2 separate regions of the Homo sapiens genome follow, and region 1 is linked to region 2. The links are contacts of gene promoters, found by promoter capture Hi-C in human tissues and cell types (Jung and others, 2019). All regions are on one chromosome and are shown on one strand. The core of a region is centred on a gene start or on the middle of the fragment in contact, and the rest is flanking DNA. Distances in the headings are between cores, read along the strand shown. Region 1 overlaps GALNT5 (polypeptide N-acetylgalactosaminyltransferase 5). Region 2 holds the start of ERMN (ermin).

The links. Contacts are between HindIII fragments. The study calls those that stand out against the background at their distance.
Region 1: a contact is called between a fragment that was not itself captured here and the fragment with the promoter of ERMN in region 2, in 2 of the 25 tissues and cell types used here (adrenal gland and bladder).

Annotation. Positions count from the first base shown.
Region 1 is chr2:157,278,194-157,285,337 of GRCh38, reverse strand. GALNT5 (polypeptide N-acetylgalactosaminyltransferase 5) reads right to left here. Exons shown (of 10, transcript NM_014568.3): 2 at 890-1,056. Among named protein-coding and RNA genes, the nearest start is that of GALNT5, 24 kb to the right of the region's middle. The HindIII fragment of the contact is 5,149 bases long and covers 1,840-6,988 here.
Region 2 is chr2:157,323,802-157,330,914 of GRCh38, reverse strand. ERMN (ermin) reads left to right here and starts at 5,091. Exons shown (of 3, transcript NM_020711.3): 1 at 5,091-5,513; 2 at 6,153-6,245. The coding sequence starts at 5,273. RefSeq lists an enhancer at 4,658-5,207. The HindIII fragment of the contact is 5,881 bases long and covers 1,102-6,982 here.

The DNA.
Region 1 (7,144 bases), core at 3,165-5,664, 45 kb after region 2:
CCCTCATAAAGGGACTCCTATCTACTTACTAATTGGGTACTATTCCTGTTTATGCTTCCAAGGCCACATTTTATGTTTTTCAGCCAGTTTTTCTCTATCATCCCACAGCTTCTTGAGCTCAGTGTGATTATGGCAGAAACTCTGAAGCTAAAGAAACTTCCCATGTTGCTGTGGTCACAGCTCAAGGGTAAGCTGTTCCATTAGCATTGCCAAGTCTTTGCTATTTTCTAAACTTTTCTGAAAAATGGGTTCCATTTGGGAATTTGTAATGTGGCTGTCAGACCACCTACATACACAGGTTATTTGACAACCCAAAGAGTGAGATTCTTCACTGTAATAAGCAAAAATGAACATAAAGGCTATGGTGGATTCTGGTTTTGAACTTTGTTGGAATCACCTCATCTCTCTTGTCCTATTGGCAATTTGTCTTCTTAACACTTAACTGAACACATCATATGCCTTGCTCTCAAGGAAGAAGCCATAAGATCTTAATTTCTTTGCCTTCCATAGAGTCTAACTGTAACTCTAGTTATTACCAGTAGGCAAGGCCTCCCGTTAATTGTGATTCCATTAAAAGGGATTTGTGCAATTGTAGAGGACATCTAAACTCCACTACTTCTAAGTGCCCATCTCCAAGGAGCCATAGTTAGATCATTCCAACATGGTAGCAGAGTTACAACTGAGACAACTAACTGAACAGAGCTCCAGATGACTTTTAACGTCCATAGATGCTTAGACTTATGTCTCTGAGGCTCCACGTAAAACAAAGCATTTGTACGATGTTTATGCTTCATCAAATTATCCTATAATTTTGCCATCCAAACTGCTACTAAACTTTGCTTCTGCCAAACTTTGAAATTTCAAGAGATAGCCTGAGTGGTTTTCTTACCTTTGGTGCTGAAGTCATCTACCAGCAGAATCTCCTTGATGAGGTGTGGAGGAGAGCGATTGATGACACTGTGAACAGATCTCAGGAGAGTGGACCACACTTCATCCACAAAGCACATGATGACACTGGTGGTTGGGAGGTTATTGTGAACTAGCTGCTCTGCACATCTGGGCCAGAATATAAGCAGAGCACAAGAGATGTGCTAAGGAGATCCACAAGATAGTTTTAAAAGTCACAGAGTGCGATGGTGTGCATATACACACACACTTAATCTGTCATCGATCTGTCTGGTCTATCTATCATCTATTTATATATACCAATGATGATTTTATTATTTATCATGTGCCTTTTTTTGGGGAGGGGTACATGCAAAATAAAAAAGCAGAAGAATTACCCGTAACCGTGGTTGTTATAAAAGGACTAGAAATGCAAGACATGAGAATGTCCCATGCAGACATCACACTGCAGTGGAAAGGACAGGGTTTACAGGTAGTTAGACTCTATTTCAAATCTCATGGCCAATATTTCTCAGGTCTTTAACCATTAATGCCTTCTTTAACTTCTCTGTGCCTCAGTTTCCTCATCTGCAGAATGAGGTAATAAATGGTTCTTATTCAATAGAGTTTTGTAGCCTAGTGATAATGTACATACAAAGCCTAGCAGGGTTCCTGGCACAGGAATTTATGAAATGGTAGTTATTGCTATCATTACTAGATTATATGCTAGAAGATAGCATTCTGACTTATTTAATGTTCCCAAGTGGTTTATGATTGCCTTTCCAACTGGCTGTCTGCCAACTGCCATGGGATTTATTCTTTTCTCCCATTCTGCTTGTGTATGTACTTATGGCATAATATATATGTGCCAAATAATTAAACTCTTTTTAGCTTCCGTATCCGGGGCTTCCTTGCTGATACTCTGCTACAGAATAGCCACAGTTGAAAAACCATTTTGCTGGCATAGGAATGCAATCCAGGCTACAGTGGGAGTTAGTATTCAGGTGGGTTGCAACTGGCCTGGGTTTTTTCCCATGCCCTGCAGAATACACTGCCTCACTGCTGGCATTCTTTCACCCCCTGCCTGTGCCACTCTTCATAAGCAGTGCCCAGTGGAACCTCACAAAATGTATTTGCCATCTTACTAACACAGCTACTGTCAGTAATGTGATAATTAATGATGATCATAAATATTATAAGCATTCTATATTATTTCAATGTCGACCTCAAATTACCAGCATCTCTTTCCCTTTTTATTGGTGAATAATCAAAATCATGGAAAGACTAGTCCATGATTCTGCAGTTAGTAAATGGCAGAGCTGGGACTCGAACACTGATCCAGTCTGGCTCCAAAAGTAACCATTGAGGAAGCCTTAGATCCACAAGAATAGAAGCAGCTGGCAGTAGATGCGACATTTTGTGAGAGCTGGCACTTCTGCCAAATAACATGGTTATACTTTACTTATTCCATAAATAAGAAATAGGTAAGAGCAAAAACGATAGTAAAGCAAATCACATTTGCATGACACTCTAGTGTTGCCAAAGTGCTATTCTGTACATAATTGAATTCAGTCTTCATAACAACTGCTTGAGATACATATTATTATACACTTCTTCAAATCTTGGGAAGTTAAATGACTTACCCACATCATCCACCTAGATAGGATATATAAGGAAATATGAACAAATAATGTTTTTACTTTACTGCTGGTTTTTTTTGTAGAATGGGCTTTGGAAATAGATATGTGCTCAAATATCAGTTTTTCTAATTACTGATTTGGAACAGCTTTACTACTTCTTTGAACCTCAATTTGCCAACTACAAAGCTGAAATTAAACATGTACCTATAAGATTACATATAAACATTATGTAAAACTCATCTAATATATATCTGACACATAGGGGGTACTTAAGAAATGGTAGACAAATCCAGCTGTGCTTCATAATTTCAATGGTTTCCTAGATGGTTGTTTATCATAATAATTGACAAAGCCTTAGAAAAACATAAATATCCAATCCTCAGCCCCAGAAAATCAATTTACAAGGTTTGCTGAGGGCCCAAGAATCCATGTCTTAAAATACAAACAAATAAAAGAAAACACAAAGAAACCAACCCACCAACAAACAAAAGAATGACTCACAAATCATTGATTGGTGAGTTTAAGAACTTGAGCTCAAGATAAAGTTAATTTATTCTTATTATTTGAGGCTAATATTAAAAAAAATAAATTGACAGCTGATAGGAGCATGTCCTAAATGTTCAAGTGACAGAGAATTAAAATAACACATTTTGATTCACTATCTTCATGTAGTGATCAGGTATCTAATGCTAACTTAAAATATCAGACTGTCTAAACTAATATTAGTCTACACTAAGGATCCATGCATTAGCACTTCTGAATAATATGAGAAGATATTCCTCTCTTCACTTAAGAGCTTTATCAGTTTACTTTGGCCACCATAACAAATTACTGAAAATTCTGCTTAACAGTTCCTTCCTGAATGTATCTATTTTCTCTCACATTTGTACTCTGAACAGAAAGAAGATATCAGTATGCACCTTCAACATTTTGCTTGGTACTCTCCTCAGCTAAATATCCGATTTCATCATTGGCAAGTTCTGCTAATTTTCACATGACTATAGGACACAGTTAAGCCAAGCTCACTGCCACTATGTAACACGGATCATTTTCTTCCATTTCTCAATCATGTGCTCTATATTTCCTTCTAAGCCTGCACCAGAAGTACTTACAATGCTCATATTTTTGCCAACATTCTGCTCAAGATAGCATACATATTTTCAAAGATGATTGATAGAAGCTTTCTTTCTTTCTTTCTTTTTTTCTGAAATAGAGTCTTGCTCTGTCACCCAGGCGGGAATGCCATGGCGCAATTTGATAGGAGCTTTCTCTACTGTGCCGCTCACTTCCTTCTGAGCCCTCACCAACAGCATCCTTGATATTCATATTGCTACCAACAGTGACTTCAGGGCATTCTAGGCTTTTTCTATGATGCTTCACAGAATTCTTCCGGCCTCTACCTATTAGCGAATTCCTTGGTGTATTAGGCCATTTTTGTGTTGCTACAAAGAAATCCACCTGGCTGGGCACCTGTAATCCCAGCACTCTGGGAGGCCGGGGTGGGTGGATCACTTGAGGTCAGGAGTTCAAGACCAGCCTGGCCAACATGGTGAAATCCAGTCTGTACTGAAAATACAAAAATTAGCTGGGCATCGTTGCGGGTGCCTGTAATCCCAGCTACTTGGGAGGCTGAGGCAGGGAGAATCGCTTGAACCCTGGAGGTGGAGGTTGTAGTGTGCAGTGAGCTGAGATCGCACTGCTGTACTCCAGCCTGGGTGACAGAGTGAGACTTCATCTAAAAGAAAGAAAGAAAGAAAGAAATACCTGAGACTAGCTAATTTGTAAAGAAAAGAGGTTTAATTGGCTCACGGTTCTGCAGGCTGTACAGGAAGCATGGCTCTGCCATCTGCTCAGCTCTTGGTGAGGCCTCAGGGAGCTTTTACCCATGGCAGAAGACGAAGTGGGAGCAGGCATGTTACATGACAGAGCAAGCAAGAGACAGTAAGGTGAGGTCTCTGACACTTTTAACCAACCAAATCTTATATGAACTGAGGGAGAACACACATATCACCAAGGGGATGGCACTAAGTCATCCATTATAGATCTGCCTCCGTGATCCAGTACCTCCCACCAAGTCTCACCTCCAACATTGGAGGTCACATTTCAACATGAGATTTGAAGGGGACAAACATCCAAACCATATCACTTGGCTATTCCTTGGATGATACTTCTGTATTTTTGGGTACTTGTTATAGCAGCACCTCACTCCTTGATACCAAAATTTATATTAGTTTCTTCTGACTGCCATGACAAATTACCACAAACTTGGTAACATATTCTGTCACATTTCTGGGGTCCAGAATTCTAAAACCAAGATGTCAGTAGGACCTCAGTCCCTCCATATGTTGTAGGGGACATTCTGTTCCTTGCCTCTTTCAGCTTCTGCTGGCAGTCTTTGACTTGTTGAATCACTCAAATCTCTCTCTCTGTCTTCACATCACTTTCTCCTCTGTGTCTCTCTGGGTGAAACCTCTGCCTGGCTCTCTTTTATAAGGATACATGTGATTTAGGGCATTTGGGGCTTATCTGGGTAATTCAGGGTAAATGTCTCCTCTCAAGATCCTTCATCACATCTCTTGCTTCAGAAGGTAATATTCACTGTTTTTCCAGGTGAGGTAATAATCACAGGTTCTGAGAATTAGGAAGTAAATATATTTTTGGAGAACCATGTCTTTTAGCCTGACACAAGGGCTTAATGAGTTAAGGCAAGAAATAGGCTGGGTGAGGTAGCTCATGCCTGTAATGCCAGTGCTTTGGGAGGCCAAGGTGGGTGGATCATCTGAGGTCAGGAGTTCGAGACCAGCCTGACGAACATGGAGAAACCCCATCTCTACTAAAAAATACAAAAAATTGAGGTCTGTTCCAAGATGGCCAAATAGGAACAGCTCCGATCTGCAGCTCCCAGCGTGATTGACACAGAAGACGGGTTATTTCTGCATTTCCAACTGAGGTACCTGGTTCATCTCATTGAGAGTGGTTGGACAGTGGGTGCAGCCCACAGAGGGTGAGCCAAAGCAGGTTGGGGCATCACCTCACCCAGGAAGCGCAAAAGGTCTGGGGATTTCCCTTTCTTAGCCAAGGGAAGCTGTGACAGATTGCACCTGAAAAAATGGGACACTTCTGCCCAAATACTGTGCTTTTCCCACAGTCTCAGCAACTGGCAGACCCAGAGATTCTTTCCTGTGCCTGGCTTGGCAGGTCCCACACCCATGGAACCTTGCTCACTGCTAGCACAGCAGTCTGAGATCAAACTGGGAGGCGGCAGCCTGGCTCGGGGAGGGACGTCCACCATTGCTGAGGCTTGAGTAGGTAAACAAAGCAGCTCAAACTGGGTGGAGCCCACCGCAGCTCAGCAAGGCCTACTGCCTCTGTAGACTCCACCTCTGTGAGTAGGGCATAGCTGAACAAAAGGCAGCAGACAACTTCTGCAGATTTAAATGTCCCTGTCTGACCGCTCTGAAAAGAGCAGTGGTTCTCCCAGCACGGCGTTTGAGCTCTGAGAATGGACAGACTGCCTCCTCAAGTGGGTCCCTGACCCCTGTGTAGCCTAACTGGGAGACACCTCCCAGTAGGGGCTGACAGACACCTCATATAGGCGGGTGCCCCTCTGGGACGAAGCTTCAGGCAGAGGAAGGATCAGGCAGCAATATTTGCTGTTCTGCAGCCTCCACTGGTGATACCCAGGTAAACAGGGTCTGGAGTGGACCTCCAGCAAACTCCAACAGATCTGCAGCTGAGGGTCCTGACTGTTAGAAGGAAAACTAACAAACAGAAAGGAATAGCATCAACATCAACAAAAAGGACATCTACATCAAAACCCCATCTGTAGGTCACCAGCATCAAAGACCAAAGGTAGATAAAACCACAAAGATGGGGAGAAACCAGGGCAGAAAAGCTGAAAATCCTAAAAACCAGAGCACCTCTTCTCCTCCAAAGGATTGCAGCTCCTAGCCAGCGATGGAACAAAGCTGGATGGAGAATGACTTTGACAAATTGATAGAAGTAGGCTTCAGAAGGTCGGTAATAACAAACTTCTCTGAGCTAAAGGAGCATGTTTAAACCCATCAAAAGGAAGCTAAAAACCTTGAAAAAACACTAGACGAATGGCTAACTAGAATAAACAGTGTAGAGAAGACCTGAAATGGCCTGATGGAGCTGAAAACCATGGCAAGAGAACTTCGTGATGCATGCACAAGCTTCAATAGCCGATTTAATCAAGTGGAAGAAAGGGTATCAGTGATTGAAGATCAAATTAATGAAATGGGGTGAGAAGACAAGTTTAGAGGAAAAAGAGGAAAAAGAAATGAACAAAGCCTCCAAGAAATATGGGACTATGTGAAAAGACCAAATCTATGTTTGATTAGTGTACCTGAAAGTGATGGGGAGAATGGAACCAAGTTGGAAAACACACTTCAGGATATTATCCAGGAGAATGTCCCCAACCTAGCCAACATTCAAATTCAGGAAATACAGAGAACACCACAAAGATACTCCATGAGAAGAGCAACTCCAAGACACATAATTTTCAGATTCACCAAAGTTGAAATGAAGGGAAAAATGTTAAGGACAGCCAGATAGAAAGGTTGGCTTACCCACAAAGGGAAGCCGATCAGACTAAT
Region 2 (7,113 bases), core at 3,842-6,341:
GGGATTACAGTTGTGAACCATGGAGCCTGACCTTGTTTAAATCTTTGGATCCAAACAAGTACAAAGCCAATTCTGAATTTACCAGTCAAATTAGCTATTGAATTCAGTTTATGATTCTTTGAATTAGGTTTCTGTAATCTCTAACCCAAACATGCCTGATTTGTACACTTGCCCAAGGTCACACAGGAGCAGGCTGAATCTCTCCTCTTTACCCTATGAGGGTCACTGATGAGAATGCTCATTTGTCCTCTATTTGAAGGGGACTCTTAACTGTCAGCACTCTCCCTCCCAGCCTCCACTTCAGCCCATGTTGGCCACAGGGTCCTATGTTCAGGGCCACACTCTTCTCTAATCCTCACCAAATACTCAGCCTGTTTCTTCCAGTGCTTTTCTTTAAAATGATATTCACTGGATCACTAGAAGGCCAGGCTCTAGATGCTAGAGCCACAGAGATATACCTTTCCTAAGGTGTAAGAAATATTTTATATTTAGAGGGAGAACAGATAATTATCCCCTCCCCTGCCTCCAACATTGAAAAGCATGCTTCTTGTAAGATGCAGTTAAATTTTGAAATTCTGTTACATTAAACCCTTAATACTCATGAGCTACCCATAGACTTCAGTATTGGTTTCCTGGGATAAACCATTATTTACTTCAGGAAACTGTATCATTAGAATGGCAGCCATTATTCCATTCTTGGCATAAAAGTAAAAGGAAAGCATGAACATGGCACACGATAATCAATTTAATCTGATTTATACCAGGTGGCAGGCAATTATTGTTTTGTGAAATAAAATATATGGCTGTTGATTGATTTTGTTGTGTTATGATAGTCTGTATTTCTGTAACAGTTCACTTTAGCTGGGACGGCCCTTCAATTTGGAATTTTAATCCCTGAAGTGAACCAATTGGGATGATCCTGTCTCTTCAGGCTTGTTTAGGGTTGCACATTCCCTGGGTCATTGCTCTATTCCTTATAGAAAATTCTATGGGTTATTGGTAGGATTGTGACTGTTGTATGTCAGTCTGACTAGGCTAAACTAAATTTCCCTGAATTTTCTTTCCTGAATGATTCCTGAAAAAGAAACGTGAGCCAAAGTAAACATTGTTCTGTGAGCTTGGTGGGGCGGAAGTGAAGCAGCTATTTTGTAGCTGGCACACACTGCTGCCCGTCTGCTGCCTCACCTGGTGCATGGGCAGCAGCTGGGCCTGCAACTGTTCCACCTCCCTGGATCTTCCTCCAGCTTCTATGATCCTGGGCCGGGCTTCTTTGGGAGGGCATTCCAACCGCTAAGGTCAGAGGCACTGAGAGCCGACGCGGGTTTCAGTTTGCCCCCGTGTGTCCAGCTTATACCTGGGAACCCAGTTTGTTCTTGCTCTCCCCCTTTAAGTTTCTATCCATCATCCCTTCCCAACTTCCTGCCCTGCAGACTTCAGGCTCCAGCATCAAATGCAACAGCAGACATATAGAGGCAGCTTCACTGGCACCCACCATTGTGTAAAGTCAAATCCCTTCTGATTGATCAATCAATTGATCGATTGATAGATGGATTGCTCCATCTCTTAGTGGTTCTGCCTTTCCCTTCCAACCCTAATTGAAACAATACCCCTGTCCCAACTATGTAAGTCAATGTTTGTTTAAGATTGGCTTCAAGCTGCCAGGATCAACATTTTTCTTTTAAATGTATTTCTTGTTTTTATTCAGTGCTCTGTGACCATCTCTTAGCCATAACATTAGCTTGTGGCTTGGCTTTTCACATATGATTAAGATTAAAGATCAAGATTTTATGACTTTTCCCCAAATCCTGATTCTGGACCTAAGATAGCCTTAACATTAAGCATTTGGTATTGGACAAATGGAAAGTGAATATTTACATAATTTTATTTTGATTCTTTATATTCTTATATGAAAATCTTTTCATTACCTTTTTTTTGGCTTTAGATTTAATAATGGTTACATTTGTACAATGTCCTTTAGCATTAAGAATAATAACTAGGGGCCAGGTGTAGTGCTTTATGCCTGTAATCCCAGCACTTTGGGAGGCCAAGGCGGGTGGATCACCTGAGGCCAGGAGTTCGAGACCAGCCTGACCAACATGGAGAAATCCTCCCCGCTACTAAAAATACAAAAATTAGCCAGGCATCAAGGCGCATGCCTGTAATCCCAGCTACTCAGGAGGCTGAGGCAGGAGAATCTCTTGAACCTGGGAGGCAGAGGTTGCAGTGAGCCGAGATTGTGCCACTGTACTCCAGCCTAGGTGACAAGAGCGAAATTCTTCTAAGGAAAAAGCCACAAGATCCAGTAAACTACATAAAATAAAACAGTCATGTTTCATACAGTGAACATTCTGCAATTGTATTTGAAGTAAGGATGATAGTGCAAATTCTAACATACTTTCTAAGTCATAGGTTGTTACAAATAATGGGAGACAACTTACCTCTTTATGAACAAAATAGCCTATGTTTTATCTAGTAGTTGGATAGACTCATCTTGTTGCTAAATGTGTCTCATGTTGCCGTCTACTTGTAGGAAAAAATAATACACGTTACAAACCATTTACCCGACCTCCATTATTCCCTAGGGCAGCATAAAAGCATGTTTTTAAATAAATGTAAACACATGGTTAGCCAAGGATGACAGAACTCTGGATCATTTCTCTATCTTTCCAAAACTGAAATAATTTTAAGGCCATAAAAAATGTCACAGCATGGTTTTAGAAAGAAGGCAATCCAAAAATAAAGACACGAATTCCCATAAAAGCTAGGCTATGGGTATGAGGTGCCCGTTGCCATGGGGTAATAGAAATCTAGGAGTAGGAGAGACAATGAATCTGAACTGTCTCAACTTTGCTATGTCCCTGGATTGAGGTACTTGGCAGCCCCGAGGGAACGGAGTGATTGGAGGCATGACCTTTGGAGCTAATGTATTTCTGTACTCCTGTGTTTATCGCAGGGCATTTGGTTGAATTAGTGCCACTTCCTGCCCTAAGGATCTCACAATCTAGTATGTCCCCATTTGTTCCTAAGCTTGGTCTTAGTTTCTGCATTCTCCCATATGATTCCACTCAATATCTTCTCAACAGTAAGCTTGTAGTTGAATTTCTTGGGAGGACGCTCCCAGAACATCATCCTCAGCAGCTGCAGGGTGTCTCTGGGGCAGGTCTTGAGACTGCCTTAGGCTCTCTGCTGCCCTCTCCTGGCCACAACTGTCTCTACTGCCAAGGTGCTAATGCCGAACCCCTGTGGGATCTCTGGTCCAAGGAAACATCTGCACACAGGCCAGGGATGGCGCTTAGCTTCATCTGTGCTGCAAACTCTCATCAGTAGGCTTGCTGGCTCTGTGACCTTACTAGCTGAACTCCTTAATCTCTCTGCACTTCATTTTTCTAGTCTATAAAATGGAGATAACAACAGCACCTACCTCAGAAGACTGTTATGAAGAGTAAGTGTATTACTATTTATGAGTCAATTAGGACAGTAGCTTGCACATAATAAGTGTGATATGAGCGTTTGTTAAAACAGTTAAACAATCAAACAAACATAGAATTAGAGTGCTGACTAGAGAACAGCTGGTGATGACGCGGGAGGGAGATCTAGGATCTATTAGAGATGTCTTCCAAGGACAAGGGAGAGGGGATTATACAAGAGTGAGGTGTTGTCCCTGATATAGACCTGAATGGGCTCAGCCCTAGACACACTTTTAAAGGTGATATGCTTACTACAACTCTTCAACACCTATTCTTCTTCTCTTTAAAAATGATCTGAAATTTATTCTCTTGGGGATAAAATTTATTGTATATATTATATATATAATATAATTCTTGTTATGTATGTGTATATATATAATTATTTGTGTATATATGTGTATATATATAATTATTTTTATTGCGTGCTACTATTCCAAGCCAGATGCTAAGTGCTGGGGACACATGTAAGCAAGTTAAACTGGCCCCTCGCCAGATGAAACTTAGTTTGCAGTTGGTGAAACAGACATTACAGAGATAATTGTGCAGTTGCTTATTTAGTTACAACCATGAAGAATACTCTGAAGGGCAAAGACAATGTGTAACAGAGTCCTGTCCTAATCCTGGCGGTTAGAGATAGTGTAGTTAAGGAGATGATATTTAAGCTTAAAAACAGAACTTAGGGAAGCTGGTCAGCCCAGGGCTTGGGCTTGAGGAAGAGAAGGGCATTTCACATAGAAGGAGCTGTGTGGGCAAAGGCTCTGGAACCATTTTGTACTATGAGAAATCCAAAAAAGAAAAAGATTTAAAAAGGAAGGGGTGGTCAGTAGCAGTCATTTAACATAATCACCTGTTTCTCCCAAGGGCAGATTGCATTGGTCCTCTACATTTTACCAGCATTGTGTAATATCAGTATGGAATAGAAAGGATTGTAATTCTGATTGGGGGAGGAGAAACCTTCATGGCGATAATTTTATTAGGGTTTTAAAGGATCGGCTGGGCTTCAGCAGACATAAACTAGAGGATAAGAAGCTATAGACTAAGTAAATTACTCTGAAATTATAAAACTTTTGGTATTAGCAAGTTGGTAGAATTTGTTTATTTCATAGGTCCCTTCTCCAGCCTGCTGGAAGCACACCATCAAATCTGCAGCCAGAACCATTTACAGTAAAGTTGTCCTGTTTATAGGTTTTTTCCATAAGCTGTTTTATTTTTTAATAAATAAGAAACAATGCCATTGTCCTTTACAAAATAGCTGAGGTTTTACTTGAACAAAATCTGTTTGGAAATGTTAAGCTGGTTACACAGAACTAATATGCCTCAAGGTGGTCATTCTCTCTGGATTAAAGCTGTGGGACAATTGTGGCTCCTGTTACAGGGAAAATTACAATGGGCCATTATGAAAAGGGACAAAAATCTCTGTTCCCAGAGGGGGACTGACAAGCTGAAAGTCCCTCTCTACATGCCAACACAAAAGCCTGATTGCTTCAGATTGTTTGTTTATGTAAATCAAAAGGATGCCTTTAACTCTGCCAGGGAACTGGCAAGCAACAAAGAAGGTGGTGATTGGCTGGATTCTTGCTCATGGCTCCTGGCAGATCTGACAAATCCTCTTGCTTTTGCTCTAATCTCTGTCTGGATACTTTTAGGAAAAGAACCTTGTTATTATGTACTAAAGTGAATAATTTGTGCTCTTAGAGTAGGAGTTGGAACTATAGGACTTGAAGGCAAGAGCAGGTATCTTATCAAGGATCTACTCACTCAGTTTCCCTAAAGCTCTCTCTCCAGATCGGATTCAACCGCACATCATGACAGATGTTCCGGCTACATTTACCCAGGCTGAGTGTAATGGGGATAAACCACCTGAAAACGGTCAACAAACAATCACTAAAATCAGTGAGGAATTGACTGATGTGGACAGCCCCCTGCCACACTACAGGGTAGAACCCAGTCTGGAAGGTGCACTCACCAAAGGAAGTCAGGAGGAAAGAAGAAAATTACAAGGGAACATGCTGCTCAACTCATCCATGGAGGACAAAATGCTAAAAGGTAAAGTGTTTCCCTTCTCCTTAATTTTCTTGTTTTGACTTATAAATTTACCCTGGATTTTTTTGATAAACTATTATCGAAATGAGCTGGACACCCCAAAAATGTAGCCCTTTATTCTACTACGCATAGTATAAGGACTAAACCTCTGCCTCTGGTGAAATCCAGGCTGGTCTATTTGACAGCTGTGACCCCAGACAACTTTCTGTCTCCCGAAGCCTGAGTTTTTTTCACTAGAAGAAGGCGGAATAATAATAATAACTACAAGTCTAGGGTAAGTATTGGCTAAATGTTAACTACTGTATTTATTATGATTATGGACAGCCCCATATTATTTGAACAAAGAGAATTCAAAATGTTAAAATTTCCTTCTAAATATAACTGAAGTTCTCTGAATTTATGGTTCTATATCTTATATATATATCTTATATAAATATTAAAGGAGAGATTACAATCAATAAAGTGATCATTAAGTAAATAAATTGAATTGATAAAGAATGAATCCAAAGAGTGAAATAGTAAATTTTAATGATCAGATTTAAAATTAAAGACTTCTACCTAGAGTTTAAATTGATAACTTATTAACTGTTGAACAATAAATATTTTAAATGTTAAAATACTGATTTTATATTTTTTTCCTAGAAAACCCAGAAGAGAAACTCTTTATTGTTCATAAGGCTATCACAGATCTTTCTCTCCAAGAAACTAGTGCTGATGAAATGACATTCAGAGAAGGTAACAAGAACTACAGTTTTGTACACAGAAATTGTTTGACTGAGTATGGATGACAGTCTTTCCATGAAATGTTGCATGAGCGTGGGGTTGACAAAGCAATCCAGGCAATGACTTCAAATTTTCAAAGCTGCTGTAGGCAGATAAGAGAGTCTTAACTTATCTGTGGGTTCCACCTTATAAAGCATTCCAGACTGTTCAAGGCTGAGGCTGCATGGAATGGCATAGCTGATTGGCATACCAACGTGATGTCTATCTCTTAAGTTAGTCCACTGAGTCAACCCTACTTTTTGATTTGGTGTGTCCAAATCTGTGTGTGCACCTTGTGAAAGGTAAATGTTTCAAAAACGGGTCTTTCCTAAAAGTCTACAATTAACATACAGCTTTTTTTTTTTTTTTTGAGACGGAGTGTCACTCTTGTTGCCCAGGCTGGAGTGCAATGGTGCAATCTCGGCAGACTGCAACCTCTGTCTCCAGGGTTCAAGCGATTCTCCTGCCTCAGCTTCCTGAGTAACTGGGATTACAGGCACCTGACACCACGCCCAGCTATTTTGTGTGTGTGTGTGTGTGTGTGTGTGTATTTTTAGTAGAGACGGAGTTTCACCATGTTGGCCAGGCTGGTCTTGAACTCCTGACCTCAGTTGATCCACCTGCCTTGGCCTCCCAAAGTGCTGGGGTTACAGGCGTGAGCCACTGTGCCCGGCCAACATACAGTTTAAAGTAATCTCACGAAATGATTTACTTTATAGGCCTCTAATGTAAATACAAAATTGTTAACTATTTCATGTCAAAGAAAGACAGGGTGATAAAGTTAATTTTAATTGTGTTCTTTAAGAAAATGGAAGAATAAAAAGAACATTGAAGTGATTAT